Regions from separate parts of the Homo sapiens genome. Here all the other regions are linked to region 4. Evidence: promoter capture Hi-C in 16 types of primary human blood cells and fetal thymus (Javierre and others, 2016). All regions are on one chromosome and are shown on one strand. The core of a region is centred on a gene start or on the middle of the fragment in contact, and the rest is flanking DNA. Distances in the headings are between cores, read along the strand shown. Region 1 overlaps CLYBL (citramalyl-CoA lyase). Region 2 overlaps CLYBL-AS3 (CLYBL antisense RNA 3). Region 3 overlaps CLYBL (citramalyl-CoA lyase). Region 4 holds the start of PCCA-AS1 (PCCA antisense RNA 1). Region 5 overlaps CLYBL (citramalyl-CoA lyase). Region 6 overlaps CLYBL (citramalyl-CoA lyase). Region 7 overlaps CLYBL (citramalyl-CoA lyase).

The links. The method cuts DNA at HindIII sites, captures the fragments that hold promoters and counts their contacts. A CHiCAGO score of 5 or more calls a contact.
Region 1: a fragment that was not itself captured here is called in contact with the fragment with the promoter of PCCA-AS1 in region 4 in 5 of 17 cell types (activated CD4 T cells, fetal thymus, erythroblasts and 2 more); the score reaches 6.5 in activated CD4 T cells.
Region 2: a contact is called between a fragment that was not itself captured here and the fragment with the promoter of PCCA-AS1 in region 4, in 1 of 17 cell types (monocytes). The highest score is 5.3, in monocytes.
Region 3: a fragment that was not itself captured here is called in contact with the fragment with the promoter of PCCA-AS1 in region 4 in 8 of 17 cell types (activated CD4 T cells, erythroblasts, fetal thymus and 5 more); the score reaches 8.6 in activated CD4 T cells.
Region 5: a fragment that was not itself captured here is called in contact with the fragment with the promoter of PCCA-AS1 in region 4 in 2 of 17 cell types (naive CD8 T cells and non-activated CD4 T cells); the score reaches 7.3 in naive CD8 T cells.
Region 6: a contact is called between a fragment that was not itself captured here and the fragment with the promoter of PCCA-AS1 in region 4, in 4 of 17 cell types (total CD4 T cells, non-activated CD4 T cells, fetal thymus and 1 more). The highest score is 7.2, in total CD4 T cells.
Region 7: a fragment that was not itself captured here is called in contact with the fragment with the promoter of PCCA-AS1 in region 4 in 1 of 17 cell types (non-activated CD4 T cells); the score reaches 5.8 in non-activated CD4 T cells.

Annotation. Positions count from the first base shown.
Region 1 is chr13:99,644,872-99,648,028 of GRCh38, reverse strand. The region is part of intron 1 of CLYBL (citramalyl-CoA lyase); the gene reads right to left. Among named protein-coding and RNA genes, the nearest start is that of MIR4306, 3.4 kb to the right of the region's middle. The HindIII fragment of the contact is 1,448 bases long and covers 759-2,206 here.
Region 2 is chr13:99,905,487-99,908,584 of GRCh38, reverse strand. The region is part of intron 1 of CLYBL-AS3 (CLYBL antisense RNA 3); the gene reads left to right. It also overlaps a transcript of CLYBL not described here. Among named protein-coding and RNA genes, the nearest start is that of CLYBL-AS3, 50 kb to the left of the region's middle. The HindIII fragment of the contact is 3,286 bases long and covers 154-3,098 here.
Region 3 is chr13:99,888,594-99,891,576 of GRCh38, reverse strand. It overlaps CLYBL (citramalyl-CoA lyase), which reads right to left. Exons shown (of 9, transcript NM_206808.5): 8 at 140-259. The coding sequence ends at 164. All of the region lies in intron 1 of CLYBL-AS3 (CLYBL antisense RNA 3), which reads left to right. Among named protein-coding and RNA genes, the nearest start is that of CLYBL-AS3, 67 kb to the left of the region's middle. The HindIII fragment of the contact is 2,582 bases long and covers 1-2,541 here.
Region 4 is chr13:100,479,526-100,482,296 of GRCh38, reverse strand. PCCA-AS1 (PCCA antisense RNA 1) reads left to right here and starts at 1,282. Exons shown (of 5, transcript NR_047686.1): 1 at 1,282-1,317. All of the region lies in intron 21 of PCCA (propionyl-CoA carboxylase subunit alpha), which reads right to left. It overlaps LOC107984574 (a long non-coding RNA gene), which reads left to right and starts at 1,090. Exons shown (of 3, transcript XR_007063850.1): 1 at 1,090-1,177; 2 at 1,867-2,036; 3 at 2,534-2,750. The HindIII fragment of the contact is 6,979 bases long and covers 1-2,771 here.
Region 5 is chr13:99,620,038-99,622,806 of GRCh38, reverse strand. The region is part of intron 1 of CLYBL (citramalyl-CoA lyase); the gene reads right to left. Among named protein-coding and RNA genes, the nearest start is that of CLYBL, 15 kb to the right of the region's middle. The HindIII fragment of the contact is 500 bases long and covers 1,155-1,654 here.
Region 6 is chr13:99,674,730-99,677,848 of GRCh38, reverse strand. All of the region lies in intron 1 of CLYBL (citramalyl-CoA lyase), which reads right to left. LOC124903199 (a long non-coding RNA gene) reads right to left here. Exons shown (of 2, transcript XR_007063848.1): 1 at 1-3,119. Among named protein-coding and RNA genes, the nearest start is that of CLYBL-AS2, 15 kb to the left of the region's middle. The HindIII fragment of the contact is 1,672 bases long and covers 505-2,176 here.
Region 7 is chr13:99,697,940-99,700,939 of GRCh38, reverse strand. All of the region lies in intron 1 of CLYBL (citramalyl-CoA lyase), which reads right to left. Among named protein-coding and RNA genes, the nearest start is that of CLYBL-AS2, 8.5 kb to the right of the region's middle. The HindIII fragment of the contact is 8,716 bases long and covers 1-3,000 here.

The DNA of each region.
Region 1 (3,157 bases), core at 233-2,732, 830 kb after region 4:
AAGATAGAAATTATTACCCCCAGAGCCAACACACCAAGCCACCAAGACAATTCCAATGAACTGTTTCCTCTGAACAGAGAATATCTTGTTTAAATATTAGCCACTGAAGTTTTCTCTCACAACCAACAAGATGAAAATAGGAGGGAAATTATTTGCAATCGTTCTCAACTGGGCACCCATACTGCTAGTGTCAAAATCTATGGCTTTTCCAACAAGATGGCCACCTCTGCCAAAAGCATGCTCAGAAATGCCAACTGTAATTAAAATCTGGCACCTGTCTTGGGCACCAAATTTGCTTCTAATATCTCCAGTTGAAATGTGTCTCAGCTTCGAGAGGACTTAAGATGCTTCTTGCCCTCTGCCCTTTGGAAAAACACTCGAGTGGAAAAATTGACGGCTGTTATCCCCAAAATTACATTTTTTACATTTTAACTGTCCTAAATCTTCTCTGCTTTCTTTCTCTGAATCTGTTTGTTTAATTAGTCCCAAGAGAATCAGCATACATTCCCTTCACACATTTTGTTTTTATAAACCTCAAGAAAAATAGGCACTGAAATAAGTTCTTCCCACTATGGAGTTGTGATGGGGGGCGGGGCCGGGGGGGCGTGTGACAGATGTAGATTTTGCAAGGCCTTAGATACTATGGAATTGGGAAGCTCTAGGTGGGGCGGGAGCCTTCCCTAAGAAGGTTTTTCAGAGCCACACGTCTTGATTTGAGGCACATTGCTTTGGACCTCTCTGCTGCCTATGAACAAGCTTGTGTCCTACCTATTGTTTTCTTGAGCTGGGGCTATCAAAATTCTAAGTAGTTTTTTGTTTGTTTTGTTTTTAAAGACTGTAGCATTTCTCAAGAAGAAACTTCTTGTGATCTTTCTTATAAGCCTTTCAAACACTGGCCACCCAGCCCCCCTTAGGTGTGGGCAGAGTGGTCCTCAGGCCCATGAGCACCATGGATGGTGATGCACTGCACAGCTTGGCAGTGACAAGCATTCCCAAAGCATGGGAGGCCAGAGCGTGCGGAGGGCCCAGCAGCAGCCTCTCCAGAGGGGAAGGGGCCCTGCCCACCTCTCTCCCTGCTGTATCCCTGGGCCTAGAAGAGTGTCTGGCACAGAAGGTACTGAGAAGTAGCTATCGCAGGGCTAGCAGGCAGATCTAGGGTATGCTTGCCTTTGTAACGAGCTCCTTATATTAAGATTTCTGTAACCAGCCAGGCGTGGTGGCTCACGCCTGTAGTCCCAGCACTTTGGGAGGCCAAGGTGGGTGGATCACGAGGTCAGGAGTTTAATACCAACCTGGCCAAGATGGTGAAACCCTGTCTCTACTAAAAATACAAAAAAAAAAAAAAAAAATTAGCCAGGTGTGGTAGCGGGCACCTGCAATCCCAGCTATTCAGGAGGCTGAGGCAGAGAATTGCTTGAACCCAAGAGGCAGAGGTTGCAGTGAGCCGAGATCACGCCACTGCACTCCAGCCGGGGTGCCAGAGTGAGACTCCATCTCAAAAAAAAAAAAAAAAAAAAAGATTTCTGTAACCAATTGGCTCCTATAGTCAGAGGAACCTGACCCAGGTGAATTATAAATCATTGTAAATGCAAGATGCCCTTCTCCCTGGTGAGGAGCACAGACATTCACCCTTTGGACACACATCCTCATTAACCCTCCCTTTCAGGAGCTCCATCCTTCAGCAACCCTTCTTCCCCCAGGCCACCCCAAACTCCTATAACACACCACTCCTCATTAGAAATTAAAAGGGGCTAAAGGAGTGCGATGACTGCTTAAGGTACAAGTAGATTTACTACTGAATACAGAAAAAATATAAAAGCAGTGCCTGATTATGACAGGATCCTGCTCAAAATAATTCACCAATAAGTTGCTTCTTTGGAACTGAAAATGAATTTTTCCCCATGGAAAAAATGTCACAAATGATGGTTAGGACCTCAGGATAGCTCACAAAAGCCCACTGAACCCCACAGTGTCCCAGGGTGCCACTATTTTAATAGCATGTTCATGGCAAACAGAATCCTAAGTTTAAATTAGGGAATTTCTCAGCCACAGGAAAGAAGATACCCTGACATTGCTGGTGGCTTATTCATGCCCCACACCCCTTAAAGAAAGCCCTCTCCCTGGATCAGAAATTGCCCTAAGGCCCCAAAAGCACAGGCGACCGAAGCAAAAATAGACAAATGGAATCATGTCAAGTTAAAAAGCTTCTGCACAGCAAAGGAAAACAATCAACAAAGTGAAGAGACAGCCCACAGAATGGGGAAAAATATTTGCAAACCATCCATCTGAGAAAGGATTAATAACCAGGATATATAAGAAGCTCAAACAACTCAATAGGAAAAAAAAAATTTAATAATCTAATTTAAAAACTGGGCAAAAGATCTGAACAGATATTTCTCAGAAGAAGACATACAAATGGCAAACAGGCATATGAAAAGGTGCTCAACATCACTGATCACCACAGAAATGCAAATCAAAACTACGGTAAGATATCACACCCCATTAAAATGACTTTTTTTTTTTTTTTTTTTGAGACAGAGTCTTGCTCTGTCGCCCAGGCTGGAGTGCAGTGGTGCAATCTCAGCTCACTGCAAGCTCTGCCTCCTGTGTTCACACCATTCTCCTGCCTCAGCCTCCCAAGTAGCTGGGACTACAGGCACCCGCCACCACGCCCAGCTAAGTTTTTGTATTTTTTTAGTAGAGACGGGGTTTCACCATGTTGGCCAGGATGGTCTCGATCTCCTGACCTCGTGATCCACCCGCATCAGCCTCCCAAAGTGCTGGGATTACAGGCGTGAGCCACTGCACCCGGCCTAAAATGACTTTTATCTAAAAGATAGGCAATAACAAATGCTAGCGAGGATATGGAAAAAAGGAAACCATCGTACACTGTTAATGGGAATGTAATTTAGTACAACCGCTATGGAGAACAGCATAGAGGTTCCTCAAAAAACTAAAACTAGAACTACCATATGACCCAGCAATCCCAATGCTAGGTATATACCCAAAAGAAAGGAAGGCAGTGTATTGAAGAGATATCTGCACTCCCATGTTTATTGCAGCAGTATTCACAATAGCAAAGATTTGGGAGCAACCTAAGGGGCCATCGGTAGCTAAATGGATCAAGAAATTGTGGTACATATACACAATGAAGTAC
Region 2 (3,098 bases), core at 547-3,046, 570 kb after region 4:
TTTACCTTACCTAAGGGCATTGGTTACCCATATTGGTCAGATCTAATATTCAAAGCTCAGGAAAAGCTTTTTGGTGCAGAGCTGATGGAAGAATGATCAGGCTTCCACACTGCGAGGCGGGGCTGCTTCATTCCTTTTGTTATATGAAAAGCTTCAAGCATTATTAAGTGATGACAGAGTACACTTGGCTTCTGGTCTTTCTTTGAAGGCTGGCCTGTAGCATGCTGCTTGGAAGCAGGAACGATTCCACAAATGGTCAGGGAGCTACCCTCCTCCAAACCTCCCTTCACACCAGGTCCAGGTGTGTAAACAGAGCAGATGGGCCTCTGCCCAGAGGGAAGGGAGTTCTGAGAGCACAGAGCTGGAGCCAAGCATGACACCTTTTGGGATTTCTGTTTCTGCCGCTTCTCTACACCAAGGCTGGACCTCAAACATTCTCTCTACTCCTTTGCAAGTTCTCTGTAGCTATTGAGGATGTCAGTTGCATCAGATTCCTCCTTGTAGAGAAGGAAAAAGCTCTTTCCAAGAACCTGCAGGGAACAGGTGACTGGAGCTCAGGTTACTTTTTTGCCAATCCGAGTGCTGTTCACCACTCAGCACAGCCTGACCGTCCTCCCCGGGATGAGAGGTGCCCATGGGGTGCAGTCAGGAGGAGTCCCTCGCAAGCCCATGCCCAAAGTCTTGGCACCTGGATGTTTCAAATCATATGAAACCACGTGCTGCGGCTCTCTATTCAGGGTCTTTTTAATTGTTTTTGAGATGGAGTCTTGCTATGCTGGCCAGGCTGGCCTCAAACTCCTGAGCTCAAACTGATCCTCCCACCTCAGTCTCCTGAGTAGCTGGGACTACAAGCAAGCACTACCATGCCCAGCTTTATTTATTTATTTTTTAGAGATAGAGGGGTCATGCTACGTTGCCAGGCTGGTTTTGAACTCTTGGCCTCAGGCAATCCTCCTGGTTCAGCCTCCTGAGTCTCTGGGATTACAGGTGTGACCCATCATGCCCAATTAAAAAAAATTGATGTATAGTTAGTGAAAAATTTGGAAATACAAAAATGTAAAAAGAAGAAAAAATAAAAATCACCAGTAGTCTTATCACCCAAACACTACAATTGCTAACATTTTATTGTTTTTTTTTTCCAGTGTTGTGATTTCTTTTTAACATGGTTATAATCACAGATAATAATTATAGGAACCAACACTTGTCCAGTGCCTACAGTGTGCCAGGCCACTGTGCTTTGTATGTATTAACTCATTTCAGGCTCAAAAGAAACCTTAGGAGGTAGGTAGTATTATTACCCCCATTTCACAGATAATAAGACTGAGGCACAGGGATGTTAGGATCTTGCTCAAGGTTACTTAGCTAAGAAGCCTAAGAAGCAGGAGAGCCAGGCAGTTCAGCTCCAGACTCGCATTTGCAGCTTGGTATGCATCAGAACTTGACTTTATAGGAAAAGCACTTTCTTATCACCTTCAGAAGCACCAGTTTTAGTGGCTGTCTAATATTCCATCAAGTAAATGTCTCCCGATTGACTTAGCCATACCTCTGTAATTTACATGATGCAACTGTGAATAAAGTAGTATTTGCCAATGAGGCTTTTTTGATATTCTGGATTACAGAATTTCTTTAGGATAAATTCCCAGATGTAGACGCAAAGGGTCAAAGAAAACAGTAAGTCTGCAGATGCACGAAGCCAAGTATTTTCCAAGCCACCCGCTGTGGGGCTGCCCATCCTTGGAGGGATTAATTCTTTCTTAATCCTCAAGAAAGGATTAATGCATTTGTTAGGCAGAAGATGTTTTAATGTTTTAAAATGCTCTCCAGCCCAAATCTGAGTCATCTTGTAATAATAAGAACTCAAGGCCGGGCACGGTGGCTCACGCCTGTAAGCCCAGCACTTTGGGAGGCTGAGGAGGGTGGATCACCTGAGGTCAGGAGCTCGAGACCAGCCTGGCCAACATGGAGAAACCCCATTTCTACTAAAAATACAAAAATTAGCTGGGTGTGGTGGCAGGCACCTGTAATCCCAGCTACTCAGGAGGCTGAGACAGGAGAATTGCTTGAACCCGGGAGGCGGAGGTGGTATTGAGCCGAGATCGCGCCACTGGGTGACCGAGCAAGACTTTGTCTCAAAAAAGAAAAAAAAAAGAAAACTCAAAAAAGCTCTGGGGGTCCTTCAGTTCCCATTCAAATTCTGATTTTCACTCACACTTATTTTCCTCATATCTGATTATTCTTATGTAAAACAACAATAAAATGAAATCTTAACAGACATTTTTCTGATTTGAAAACTTTTAAATGTCCATTTTAGAAAATAGGGAAACTCCAAAATCCCCTGTAGTGACATTTACTTATTTTATTGTTTATTTTATTTCTTGATGATCACAGTGACAGGTGCTCATTGTAGTCCATTTGGAATGTACAGGAAAGTATAAAAGGAACAAAGTGAAATAACCAAATGGAGGCAAACTTCTCAGCATTTTCCCTTTTGCCATTAAACATGTTGAATCTGGCAGAGTGTCATGGCTCATGCCTGTAATCCTAGCACTTTGGGAGGCTGAGGCAGGTGGATCACTTGAGCCCAGGAGTTCAAGAACAGACTGGGCAACATGGTGAGACCCCGTTTCTACAAAAAATACAAAAATCATCTGGGAGTGGTGGCACAGGCCTGTAGTTCCTGCTACTTGGGTGGGGTCCTGGCTGAGGTGGGAGGATGGCTTGAGCAGGGGAGGTCGAGGCTGCAGTGAGCCGAGATCGTGCAGCTGTACTCCAGTCTGGGCGACAGACAGAGACCCTGTCTCAAAAACAACCACAACCACCACCACAACAACAACAAAACATGTTTGATCTAAAAAAAAAAAAGCAAAAACAACAACCAAAAAACACTTTTTTATGGCTGCATGAAAATTTCCATCTAAGGTACTTTTAGATTTCTTCCCCCTTTTCTTTCTTTTTTTGGTCTCACACCTGGAGCTCGGTTCTTGGCTGACTTGCAAGTTTGCTTTGAAGGATAATGAAGAATAATTGGAACAGAATGGAGGTGGGGGAGGGTGGACAGAATAAGAAAGGGCTCCACTGCCCCCAGCTTTCACTTCCTA
Region 3 (2,983 bases), core at 1-2,500, 590 kb after region 4:
CTGGCCAGTGAGACAACAACAACAAAATTGTGATTAACATGAACTGTAAATGGAGTCAGGTCCCAATCTGGCATCCTAACAAGTTGCTTTGAGTATTGTGGTTTGTCTTTAAGAACCCCACTGTATATGTTCAGCCCACCTGATGACAGCTTCATTTAACAGATCATTTTTCCTTGATGGAGGTGGCAAGCGTAACAGTGTTCTGGGCCTGCTTCAGTAATGGCATGTCGATCATACTCCCTTGGAAAGTAAAGGCCCCCTGGAAAACAGAGAATACAAACTTCCTGAAAGAATACTCGAAATTATAGGTTTCCTTTCTGTGCACACTTGTGCAACAAGAACATTTTAGATTCCACCTGAATTATACTGACTTTCCCGCCCAACTTTTGAGAAAGCCAAAGTAAATTACAGAGGAAACACTTCTTTTTTCCCCCTAAAGAGGGGAAAAAAATAAAAATCTTCAGCATTTTAATGGAGAGGAGAAACACATTGGACACAAGACAGCAAACTGTTCAGTTAACTCTTGAAATCAAGCAGAAAACAGCTGTGGAAGGAAAATCTAAATACTTCCCTATATATTTTTGAAATATTATGTAGAACTTTAAAAGCAAGAATATATTCTGGCAACTGATTATTGTTTTAAAAAATTGTACCATCAGGCTAATGGCAAAATCTTACCTCCTTGCTGTAACATAATTGAGAGGTAACATGATAAGGTTATGAGAAAATGCAAGGTAGGATTGTACAGGGTACAAAGAGATGAGTCTGTTGGTAAACCCATACAGAAGACGATTAGAGTGACCAGGGACGGCCAGGCGCAGTGGCTCACACCTGTAATCCCAGCACTTTGGGAGGCCGGGGCGGGCGGATCACCTGAAGTCAGGAGTTCAAGACCAGCCTGGCCAACACGGTGAAACCCTGTCTCTAATAAAAATACAAAAAAATTAGCTGGGCATAGTGGTGCACGCCTGTACTCCCAGCTACTCGGGAGGCTGAGGCAGAAGAATTGCTTGAACCCAGGAGGTGGAGGTTGCAGTGAGCCAAGGTCACACCACTGCACTCCAGCATGAGTGACAGAGCGGGACTCCATCTCAAAAAAGAAAGAAATACCAGGGACATGAGCTGTAACAAAGGAATCATAGATCTGTTGAATGTTAAGATGGGAAGGCATCTCTGAAATCTCTTGGAATAGTCCCATTTTACAGACTCATTTTTTAAAAAACTTCTACCATACTTATATAGACTGTGTCAAGTAACCTAAGCCCTGTTTTAGATGAGGAAACTGAGGCTCAGAGTAGTAAAAGAAGGAAAAAAAAAGAAGTGATCTTCCAAGGTCATGTGACTAGGGAAAGCCAGAGCTGGGGCTGATGCTTGGGTCTCAGAGCTTCAAGCCTTCATCAGAGATCCCCACATTAAGAAGACAAGGTAGCTTCTTTAAGTGCATCAGCAAAAGATAGATTAAACGGACAGAAAGCAGCATGCTCAGAACCCAAAGTTAATGTCTGGTTATTTGTGTTCTTTTCATCACTTCCTTTTGCTGCTTACGATGATATCCCTTCATCCTAATCCACCCTGCTTCGACCTGTTGGCAAGGATGCTGGTGTGACTGGGTTGCAGGGGTCCTTCGAGATCTGGGGGTGGCTGGGGCAATCCTAATGCACATTGATGATGGTCCATTTGCATCTATTGTAGCCCATTTCTGGATTTCACAAGTACCAATTCCCAACAGTCAATGCTGATGTCACTCAGGGCTGCCGGGACAGGAGTGCTGGGCTCTCATGATGAGGGCTGAGAGGTAGTAACTTACGGTTATACATAGGATGGAGGTAAAGAAAAATGGGGGGAATCCTTAGCAATGACTTTTGGGATTTATCTTTTGATTGAGAGAGATTCTAAGCCTACTAGGATTAGAATTTTTACCAGCAGTGGCCAACCTTTTCAGCCTTAGAAATGATGACTCTTACTCACATGAACACCTGTGTGGCCTAAACCTAAATTCCTGTACTGTAAGTCACTTCCCAGCCCTCTTGTTTTTACTGTTTTTACCCCTAGATTGTCCTTTCCATAATTTCATTCAGCCTCGAGCTAATTTTGGTCACCTCTGTGACCAGGAGGAATTTTCCTAATTTGGTTGGAAGTTCCGAGGTGGTCCTGTAGGTTGGCGTTACGTGGAAATCCGGGCCTGGGTCACATGCTGTTTTACAAGGCAATCGTCTAGTTTTCTTATTGGAGTAAATGATGAAGACCAAAGGCCTCTTGGTTATCCACCCACCAAGTGGGTTATGGCCCTGTAAAACAGCACATCTGTCCTGCTAGGGTTTAAACAATAGGCTGGGGAGACGAAATTAGCATAGATGCACAGGAAATCAAAACGGTGCGCAGAGAATCCAAACGGTGGCTGTGAGTCTGTGCCATGTTCCCGAACCTGCTTTGGGTTCCATGTGCACATCAAAGATAAAAAACACTTCATGTAGTTTTTCAAGACTGGGAGATTATTTCTTCTATGGTCGCAGGTTTTGCTTGATTTTCTTTAATGAAGCTTAAGGTGCAAAACGAAATGTAGCATTTTTCTTGTTTCCTGCATCACTGCAAATGGAGGATGGTAGTGTTATGAATGAGACTGCCTAGCGTGAATATCCCCAGGCTCTCACATAGCCACCTATAATTTAGGTGGTATTTTTTTAACATGTGGGTCTATAGGTGAGATGAAAAATAGTCTATTGGTCAGGATTTAGAAAAATGCAGTTCATCAAAAAGCTACTTGGATTTTTGAGGAGGGTTTGAAATCTTCCTTAATGATTATATTTTATATTTATTATATATTTTTTGAGACTGAGTCTCGCTCTGTTGCTCAGGCTGGAGTGCAGTGGTGTTACCTCGGCTCACTGCAACCTCCGCCTCCCGGGTTCGATTCTCCTGCCTCAGCCTCCCAACTAGCTGGGACTACAGGTGCGTGCCACCACGTTTGGCTAATTTTTTTTGT
Region 4 (2,771 bases), core at 33-2,532:
ACTCTGCATCCCTCCTGGCTACTGCCTTCTGACCTGACCCATGTTCTCCACACAGTCCTCTGCTCTAGCTGCTGCAACCACACTTGCACTCACGACCAAACCAGCCCTACGTGGCTATCGCCACCACTGTTCTTCCTAACTGACAAGCTGTCTCAGGTACCCACAGGTTAGATATTTCAGGGGAAATGACTGTTACAGAAATGTTCATGTTAGAATGAAGAAACAGATCAATACACATCAATCATATTAAAAAGGTGCTTCTAAGACAAAGCATATATTATTTTTATTATTCATATTCAATATTTTAGGAATTAAAGCAACGATGTTTCTGCAAATTTATGGTTTTGAATTGATGGTACGTTGTAATAATGCATAGATAGGGTCTGCCTGAGCTTTCACCCCAGGAACTGTAAACTTTATATTACAGTAGTCCCCCCTTATCCAAGGTTTTAGCTTTCCAAGGTTTCATTTACCTGTGGTCAACCATGGTCCAGAAACATTATATGGAAAATTCCAGAAATAAACAATGTATAAGTTTTAAATTGTGAGTCATTCTGAGTAGTGTGAGGAGATCTTGTGCTGTCCTGCTCCATCCTGCCTGGGTCATAAACCCTCTCTCTCGGGGTCCAGCATCTCCACGCTGTAGACACCCCCACCACCAACCAGTCACTTAGTGGCCATCTCAGTTACCAGATCTACTGTCAGGGGGTCTCAGTGCTTAGGTTCCTTTTTTATTTTTGAGACAGAGGCTGGCTCTGTCGCCCAGGCTGGAGTGCAGTGGCATGATCTTGGCTCGCTGTAACCTCCACCTCCTGGGCTTAAGCCATGCTCCCACCTCAGCCTGCCGAGTAGCTGGGACTACAGGTATGTGCCACCGTGACCGGTGAATTTTTGTGTTTTTTGTAGAGGCAGAGTTTTGCCATGTTGCCCAGGCTAGTCTCAAACTCCCGAGCTCAAGTGATCCACCTGCCTTGGACTCCCAAAATGCTGGGATTACAGGTGTGAGCCACTGTGCCTGGCAGGAACTATTATTTGACTTCACAATGGCCTCAAAGTTCCAAGAGTATGATGCTGGCAATCTGGATATGCCAAAAACCAGCCATGAAGTCCTTCCTTTAGTTAAAAGGTGAAAGTTCTCAAGAAAAAAAAAAGTATGCTGAGATTGCTAAGATCTACAGTAAGAATCAATCTTCTATCCATGAAATTGTGAAAAAGGACAAAGAAATTTGTGCTAGTTTTGCTGCTGTACCTAAAACTACAAAAGTTACAGCCACAGTGTGGGCTAAGTGCCGAGCTGAAATGGAAAAGGCATTAAAGGCAAGCGTATACAGGGTTCGGTCCCATCCGCAGTCTTAGGCATCCCCTGGGGATTTTGACATGGATCCCCCGTGGAGAAGGGGGGCTACTGTACAGTACACTTCCCTTCAGCAAGCCGCATATTCAAGTTCTCTATTTCAGATTCCCCTTCGTGACTGTCATGCAGGAAGCAAAGAAAACCCATTGTGTCCAAGGAAATTTTTACTTTCTCTAGGGATTCAGAAACCTGACTTTCTGATACTCAGAAACTCAGTGCGCATGGGTGAGAAGGCTCGGTAGGGAAGAGGTGCTTTGTAGCTCAGGATCTGCTGGAGCTGAGGGCGTTTTTTGGTTTAATCTAGTTTCACTGTGTGTTTCATGGAGAGGTTCCTCTAGGAACAAAAGGTTCTATGGAAGTCACGTCCTTTATCCCTCTTAGCCATCCCTGTGTCTGCCTTAGCCAACCTCCCATTTGTAAAAAGAAAGCAGAGACCAGGCTATGGCTGAATAGTTTCAGACAGCCCCTATACCACTGTCAGCCTTTGCAAAGTGTAATGCTTTAATTACAAGGGTCACACAAGGTCTTAAGACACAGGAGTCCCTGTGTCTGAACGTAATCACTGTGTATGCGTCTCAGCCTAATGAGGAGGTGACTATCATGAAGGTCTGGTGGTGAAGATCTTGCAAGAAGGTGCCTTGTTTGAGATCTTTCAAGGAAACACAGTACTCAATAAATGTGGGTGAGTAGAAATTACAATTTAGTTGGGTTAATTTTTGGTAGTAATATGGAGCTTTGCAAAGAGAAAGGCATTTGCTGAAGACACTGGTAAAATATGTGCTGAAGCTCTGCCTCATCTAGTCTGGTTCAAAAGTCAAATATCAAAGAGTCAAGAGACCCTCCTATTCAGAAGAAAGCCCTGACTTGTTAATTTATTAGAAGCAAGAGTAAATGCTCCATAGGTTTTTCATTAAATAAAATTAGATCTAGTCCCAGGGCTTTTCTGTAATGGGTGCTCCTGAGTCAGGAATCAAGACCCATGAAGTAAGAAAAGAACAGGTAGGCAAGGGGGTACCTTCTCCTCTAACAAAAGTGGCCTATCAGATGGTCAGGGAGTCTCTATCAGTGGAGCCAAACCAGCTCCACTGACACAGTTAAAGACCCTTGCCATCAAGTGCAAAGGGAAGCAGTAGGACTTAGAGTAGGCCATTTCCTACTAAAAATGGAATCATTTTTCAGTTCGGTGTACAGTTGAGCCTTGAGCAACATGGATTTGAACTGCATGGGGCCACTTAAATGTGCATTTTCTTATGACTCCGCTGCTCTTGAGACAGCAAGATCAAGCCCCCTCCTCCTCAGCCAACTCAACGTGAAGACAATGAAGATCAAGATCTTTAAGATGATCCACTTCCACTTAATGAATAATAAATATATTTTGTCGTTATGATTTTCCTAACACTTTCTCTAGCTTACTTTA
Region 5 (2,769 bases), core at 155-2,654, 860 kb after region 4:
AATTTAAAAAATAAACAAAATGTAGTGCTATATCCATACAAAGGAATGGTAAATGCACAGAGACAGAAGACAGACTGGTGGTTGCCAGGGGTTGAGGAGAGGAGGGAATGGGGAATGGCCGCTCAATGGATAGAGTTCTCCTTTAGGGCGATGAAAATGTTTTGGAACTAGATGGAGGTGATGGTTGCACAATATGGTGAATGTACTAAAACAGCCTCGAAGAGTACACTTGAATATTGCCTGGAGGGGCACCCATACATGTAAACAATCCTTTTTCACAGGATTGTTTGCCACTAGGGTAGGGGCAATGGAGACAAAAAGAAAAGGACAGATCCAAGAGATGTTTTTGGAACCAACAGGTCTAGATGATAGAATGTACATCTTAATATCTATGCTGGCAGCACATAACATGAGAGGCAATGAGGGAACTCAGCCCATTAGATGGTCATTCCAAGAGTTCAAACCTGAATCTATAACAGTGGATGGGTATGCAGAATAATGGCCCCCAAAGATGTCCACGTCCTTATACCCAGTATTTATTGATATGTCAGGTTACATGGCAAAGTGGAATGAAGGTTGCTAATCAGCTGACCCTGAGTTGGGGCGACTGGCCCTGGTTATCCAGGTGGGGCCAACGTAATCACAAGGGTGCTTCTAAGTGGAAAAGGGTGGCAGAAGCAACAGAACCCGAGAGATGGCAGCAATGGGGAGAAGAATTCAGCCCACTGGGTCTGGCTTTGAAGATGGATAAGGAGCCATGAGCCAAAGAATGTGGGCAGCCTCTAGAAGCTGAAACAGGCAAGCAAACAGATCACCCCTAGAACTGCCAGAAAGAACACTCTCCATCCCTGTAAACACCTTGGTTTCAGCCCACAAAACCTAGGTCAGACTTCCAAACTGCAGAAGCATAAGTTAACAAATCTGTGTTAACTTAACCAAGGGTGTCCAGTTTTTTTGGCTTCCCTGGCCCCACACTGGAAGAAGAATTGTCTTGGACCACACATAAAATCCACTAACAACAGCTGATAAGCTAAAGGGAAAAAAAAAAAAATCGCCAAAAAATCTCATGTTTTAAGAAAGCTCACAAATTTGTGTTGGGTCGTATTCAAAGTCATCCCAGGTCACATGTGGCCCACAGGCTGCAGGGACAAGCTTAATTTAAACCACCATGTTTGCGATAATCTGTTACAACAGCAATAGGAAACTAATACAATGAAAGAAGAGTTGGCACCTGAAGGGGAAAATCAACAGGCCTGGCAACAGATGGGGTGTGGGTGGGAGAGGAGAGGAGGCATCAAAGACCACTGGGAGTTCTGCATCTCGATCACCTTAACACAGGGAAGGGTGACAAAAGTCAGCGGAGAGGTTAGGGCTCTCAGGGACGAGACAGATGGCTGGCTGAGGTGTCCAGGGAAAGAAGGCTTCCAGGAGGAAGTGGCACTGATGACTCGAGAGTGTGGGGCATGGTGAGTGGTGCATGTGGGCCACAGGTAAGCGGCCTGGGGGGAAATGGAAAGATGGAGGATAGGTGAGGAGGTGCGTACATGCCACACTAAGGGGCCTGGACTTTAGCGGCAGGTAATTGGAGGTCACTGGGAAATTTATGCTGTCCAAGGGGGTGGGCACCATGATCAGAGTACAGCGTTAGGAAGCTTAAAAAGTGTATTTATGTGTTCAGGGGTGGGGAGAAGAGGTTTAACGGTAAGGATTCTCCCAGTCCTCTGGTGCAGGCATGTCACCAGATTACCTGGTAAATTCCTGATGTTCTGCAGGACAAGTAGACACTGATGATTCAAACGCACAGCTTGGGACTTTGTCCAGAGAACATGAGGGGTGGCAGAGAGACTCCAAGCTTCTCCTATACCCATATTCTCTTCCTGGTAGAGGAGAAATTCTCTTGACTGGCTGACTCCTTTGTAGTTGAGGTGTCTGAAGAAGACATTTTCTTTCTTTTTTCTTTCTTTCTTTTTCTTTCTTTCTTTCTCTCTCTCTCTCTCTTTCTCTCTCTCTCTTTTTCTTTCTTTCTTTTTTTGAGACAGAGTCTCACTGTCACCCAGGCTGGAGTGCAATGGCAGGATCTCAGCTCACTGCAACCTCCACCTTCCGGGTTTAAGCGATTCTCCTGCCTCAGCCTCCTGAGTAGCTGAGATTAGAGGTGTGTGACCACCACGTTCAGCTAATTTTTGTATTTTTAGTAGAGACAGGGTTTTATCATGTTGTGCCAGGTTGGTCTCCAACTCCTGACCTCGTGATCCGCCCATCTTGGCCTCCCAAAGTGCTGGGATTACAGGCATGAGCCACCATGCCCAGTGAAGGCATTTCTTAAAATGTATAGCACTTGAGAAGGGCTACACATCTGACATCAGCACTGCTTGTTTTCTTGGGCTCACTGGTCATCCCTGCTGGACTGCTGGCTGATGGGCCCTAGAACAGGCAGACCCTATGAGAGCACTGTGGCTCTGGGCATTTGCAAGCCAGCTTGAGGGTTCCAAGTGAGCAGGGAACCCAAATGGAGCAGAAAAAAACTGAAAGAGGTGAAATGTAGGCCAAAATCAGGTATCCACTTCTGAGTCAAAATCAGACTAAAATTTAGGATATCTACCTTCTCTTTCTCCTGAGTTCTTTTAGGTTCTGCGTCTCCATACACCTGAATTATTTTAGAATCCTAACCCCTAGGCGCTGTGCTGTGTCCATCATAAGTCACTGGAACAAAGTGCCTGGTAGCACTCCCTGCTGCAGGCAGAGACACCATGAGGGTGCCGCCCCTTC
Region 6 (3,119 bases), core at 91-2,590, 800 kb after region 4:
GATGATTGAAACCCGATGTGTACTGCAAAAAAGGGCTATAAATCTTTTTATGTACAAATAAAACAGTAGCCATTAAATTTTGCTATGATGTCTGAGTAGATATTCAGCATGAAAACATGATAAAACAACTGTAAACTGATTGTGATCAAATGTAATTACAATGACTTGTCTCCAATGAATGACATGAACTAAATACAGTCACAGATTTCTCCAAAATTACTTTGGGCAAAGAACCAAGAGAACACTATATCCTTTCTTCACTAAAGGCATTTTGCCAGATAAATCGCAAACACACAAGCTTTAATAACTACTGCCAAAAAAGCACTTGGGAACTCATTATGGAAACGTTTAAAACACACACAGACACAGACACACGTGCACTCATATTTAATAAAAACTCTTCCTCCATATTAATATAATTTTACTGAAAAAGCCACGTGTTTTGAGATTTTTAATTGATGCTCCCCAGAAGTAAATCTAAGGAGTGATCGGCAATTACAAGCTTTTTTTTTTTCCTCTCTCAAAGTCAATGTATTTGGCTGCCGTTTCTGGCATCTTTATCTTGGAGAGGTTATAAGAAAATCTACTTGGATATTTTTATGCAGCTAAAAGTAAACAATGATCTGGATTCTGAAATAATCTGATCTTTTCAATACGCCAATGCAGGTAGATTCTCTCCCTCATTCTCTGCCCTTTTTGAGGTGACTTATTGCATTACCTCCAGGAACAGAAAAAATAAAAATGACCGTATACACAGGAGTCACATTCAGCAGTAATTATGGCTGACACAGGTCTACGAACCTAAGGACCTGGGAAAAAAAGGGGACAATTTGTGCTCTCAGCTCTACTGTCCAACTTTGTCCTTTTTTTTTTTTTAACCTCTAGTCCTGAAATTGTGGCAGTATTTATCTATACACCATTTGGGAATATTATTAAGAATGATGGGCCGAGCGCAGTGGCTCATGCCTGTAATCCCAGCACTCTGGGAGGCTGAGGTGGGCAGATCACCTGAGGTCGAGAGTTCGAGACCAGCCTGACCAACATGGAGAAACCCCATCTCTACTAAAAATACAAAATTAGCTGGGCATTTTTCACCCAGTGGTGGGGCATGCCTGTAATGCCAGCTACTCGGGAGGCTGAGGCAGGAGAATCGCTTGAACCTGGGAGGTGCAGGTTGCAGTAAGTCGAGATTGTGCCATTGCACTCCAGCCTGGGCAACAAGAGCAAAACTCCACCTCAAAAAAAAAAAGAATGAAGAAGGCTGGGTGTGGTGGCTCATGCCTGTAATCCCAGCACTTTGGGAGGCTGAGGTGACTTGAGGTCAGGAGTTTGAGACCAGCCTGGCCAACATGGCGAAATCCTGTCTCTACTAAAAAAACAATTAGCCAGGCCTGGTGGCAGGTGCCTGTAATCCCAGCTACTCGAGTGGCTAAGACATGAGAACAAATGAGGTGGAGGCTGCAGTGAGCCGAGATTGCGCCATTGCACTCCAGCCTGGGTGACAAGAGTGAAACTCTGTCAGAAAGAGAGAAGAGGACAGGAGGGGAGGGGAGAGGAGGGAAGAAAGAGAGAGAGAAAGAGAAATAGAAAAAGAAAAAGAAAGGGAGGAAAGGAAGGAAGGAAGGAAGGAAGGAAGGAAGGAAGGAAGGAAGGAAGGAAGGACGGACGGAGGGAAGGAAGGAAGCCAGTCTGTGGCCAGGGGTGGTGGCTCACGCCTGTAATCCCAGCACCATGGGAGGCCGAGGCGGGCAGATCACCTGAGGGTAGGAGTTCGAGACCAGCATGGCCAACATAATGAAACTCTATCTCTACTAAAAATACAAAAAATTAGCCAGGCGTGGAGGCACAGTGCCTGTGATCCCAGCTACTTGGGGGGCTGAGGCACAAGAACAACTTGAACCCGGGAGGTGGAGGTTGCAGTGAGCTGAGATCATGCTACTGCATTCTAATTCCATTCCTAAGTATAACCCCAGAAGAAATATACCCATACAACAATGTGTACAGAAATGTTCATAGCAGCATTATTCATAATAGCTAAAAAGTAGAAACAACCTAAATTTCCAACAACTAATCAATGAATAAATAAAATGTGGTATATATTAGTACATACAGTGGAATATTATTTGGCCCTAAAAAGGAATGAAGTACTGCCACATGCTACAGCTTGGATGAAGCTTGAAAACATTATACTAAGTGAAAGAAGCCAGTCACAAAAGACCACGTATCGTATGATTCCATGTATATGAAGAGTCCAGAATCGGCAAATATAGAAAGACAGAAAGTAGACTAGTGGTTGCCTAGGACTGAGGGTTTTGGGGGAAAAGGAGGAGTGACTGCTAATGGGAACAGGGTTTCTTTTGGGGCTGAAGAAACAGTGATAGAAATAAAATTAATCATGGTGATGGTTGCATAACACTGAATAGACTAAAAACCATTAAATTCATTGAACTGTATACTTTAAATAGGTGAACTGTATGAGATGTAAATTATATCTCAATAAAGCTGATATAGACACATAAAGTATATACACATATAGGGCATACATATATAAGGTAGAAATAGTCACATCTGTAATGCAGTGGTCCTGGTCCCCTTTATGTATGTGACAGTAGAAGATGCAGCATCAATATTAAAGCCTGATGAGTGCTCCAAATACGGTTTCATTTAAATATTGTCTGCCCCTGAAGAGGAGGAATATTAGGAAAAATCCATTCCATGCTTCTACCAAATCTGCTCTTGTCAAGGTCACCCATGACCCCCACGTGGCTAAATCCAATAGCCCAATTTTTGTTTTTTTAAGAGACAGGGTCTGGTCTGGCTATGTTGCCCAGACTGGAATGCAGCAGCTATTCACAGGAGCGATCATTGTTCTCTGCAGCCTCGAACTCCTGGGCTCATGCCATCCTTGCATCTCAGTCTCCTGAGTGGCTGGAATTATAGACAAGCACCATTGCATCCAGCTTTCAATAGTCGATTCTTGGTTTCCTAATTATCTGACCCAGTGGCAGCAACATCTGGTGCAATCACCCCCTCCCAACTTGCTGTACTGTTTTCACTTGGTTCCCAGGACATATACTCCTTGGTAATCATCCTATCTTACTGCTCATGACTTCTCCATC
Region 7 (3,000 bases), core at 173-2,672, 780 kb after region 4:
CTTGACAATCAGAGAGGGAAAAAAATCCAACTTTTCCGTAATGAATACTAAATCATTTGTTTTCAAGTTCTTTCATGCTGTGTTCAGAGAGACAGCATATATTGCCAGTGTCCCATTATACCTTAACGCCAAAAAGAAAAGCATTCAAATGTTGATTCTTGAGGCATTATGTTTACTTATCACTCCCTGCAGCAAATACACATTTGAGTTCTCTGAAGACTGGCCCACTCCATCCACAAAACGCAAACAGCCAAGACCAGTGAGGTCCTTCAACGTGAAAGGGACATCAAGGCTTCGGGGCCCCTCAGCTGCTGGGAAGAGTTGTGTGTGTTAGCCTGGAAACTTGAGGGAGTCAAAGCCCCAGACTTCCCATCACAAACACCACCACAGGACGGAACTTGCCTCCTTGTCGTGGGTCCAGTGTCCAACCTGGGTTGTTTACAAGTAGCCATTTAGCGCCTTCCTTGGTGCTGTTGTTTTGTTTTGTTTTGTTTTGAGATGGAGTTTTTCTCTTGTTGCCCAGGCTGGAGTGCAATGGTGCGATCTCCGCTCACCGCAACCTCCGCCTCCAGGTTCAAGTGATTCTCCTGCCTCAGCCTCCTGAGTAGCTGGGATCATAGGCGCGCGCCACCATGCTCGCCTAATTTTAAGTAGAGATGGGGTTTCTCCATGTTGGTCAGGCTAGTCTCGAACTCCCGACCTCAGGTGATCCGCATGCCTCGGCCTCCCAAAGTGCTGAGATTACAGGTGTGAGCCACTGCACCCGGCCTTGGTGCTGTTTTTACACCGTGGGTGTGTTTGTTGTTGCCCTTCCAGTGAAGGAGAAGAGAAGAAATGGGAATGCTAATGCCTGTTTTCATTGCTGGCTGCAATTTGAAATGGGAAAGTGCAGTAACATTAGGTTTATTTATTTATTTATTATTTTCATTTTATTTTATTTTACTTTTTTAGATGGAGTCTCGCTCTGTCGCCCAGGCTGGAGTGCAGTGGTGCAATCTCGGCTCACTGCAAGCTCCGCCTCCGTGGTTCACGCCATTCTCCTGCCTCAGCCTCGAGTAGCTGGGACTACAGGCACCCGCCACCACGCCCAGCTAATTTTTTTGTATTTTTAGTAGAGACGGGGTTTCACCTTGTTAGCCAGGATGGTCTCGAACTCCTGACCTTGTGATCTGCCCACCTTGGCCTCCCAAAGTGCTGGGATTACAGGCGTGAGCCACTGCGCCTGGCCTATTTTTATTTTTTTTTTTGAGACGGAGTCTTGGTCTGTCACCCAGGCTGGAGTACGGTGGCGCGATCTCGGCTCACTGCAACCTCCGCCTCCCGGGTTCAAGCAATTTTCCTGCCTCAGCCTTCTGAGTAGCTGGGATTACAGGCGCGTGCCACCATGCCCACCTAATTTTTGGTATTTTTCGTAAAGATGGGGTTTCGCCATATTGGCCAGGTTGGTCTCGAACTCCTGACCTCGTGATCTGCCTGCCTCAGCCTCCCAAAGTGCTGAGATTACAGGCGTGAGCCACCACGCCCAGCCACGTTTTTATTTATTTATTTATTTAGAGACCGGAGTTTCGCTCTTATTGCCCAGGCTGGAGTGCAATGGCACGATCTCAGCTTACCACAACCTCCACCTCCCGGGTTCGAGGGAGTCTCCTGCCTCAGCCTCTCGAGTAGCTGGGATTACAGGTGCCCACCACCACACCCAGCTAATTTTGTATTTTTAATAGAGACGGGGTTTCTCCATGTTGGTCAGGCTGGTCTCGAACTCCCGACCTCAGGTGATCCGCTCACCTCGGCCTCCTAAGGTGCTGGGATTACAGGCATGAGCCACTGCGCCAGTCCCAGGTTCATTTTTTAAAATGTCAGTGTTTAACATTTCCTCCATGTTAATGATGAAGGGAAAAAAAAAATCTTACTCCGAAAAATGACTCTTTCATAGAACATCAGTGTTAGTTTCTGAGTGGCACGTTTTAAAAACATTTAATCAGTAATCTGAATATATGTCAACACCTTCTGGCGGTGTGCTATAAAATGTGAACCTTGTCAACAGCAACAGAAAAAGGTGACACACTTGGGACACAGAGCTTTTATGCTGACACACAGTAATAATATAATTTTAAAATTTATCATCTGTTTAGCTGCAAGCAACAACAATTAATCTTTTTGACAATTCATACAATGCTTTAAATAACACCTGGGCAGAAAAACCACACATTCTAATTTTTACTTTCATCATCTTCCAGGGCTTTATAGCTACAAATGCATATAAAGCCACACACAATAAATTTTGTGATTAGGATTAAAATGTTAGCAAAAAATATTTCCCTTGTCACCGCATGCCCCTCCTTGCCTCAGTTAATAAAATTACTTAACATGAGAACTGGAACTGAGAGCAAGTCCCAGTGGAAATGTGGGCCTCCAAGGGTTCATTTCTGTCACGTCAAATGACATTTTATTCCCAAATCATTTAACCTACGACTTTGCATAACTACTTATAGCTTGAACGTAATTCTGATGGGGACCCAGAAATGACACTGATCCCTCAACTAGAAACTCCATCAAGGCACGGTAATACTGAGCCCATCTAATTTAACAATTAAAAAAAAAAAACAGCAGCCAGGCACTACTCGGGAGGCTGAGGCAGAAGAATAGCTTGAACCTGGGAGGTGGAGGTTGCAGTGAGCCAAGATTGTGCCACTGAACTCTGCACTCCAGCCTGAGAGACAGAATAAGACGGCACCTCAAACAAAAACACAAACAAAACAAACAAACTCCAGCATGGCAAAACGTCTTCAAAATGTTCAGCAGCATGAAAACACATATGTGTTGTAAAGATTTGTTTCATGTGTCCTGTGAGGCTTCCTGAAATTTAGTATTAGGCCACACTAACAACCTTAATTAATCTCTTTCCTATTACACATGAAACCAAATGCACATTCCCAAATATACCTGTTGGCCCAGTGCCCTGCTGCCCTGGTGCTTTAAAAGCCTGTTGGGAGGCCCGGT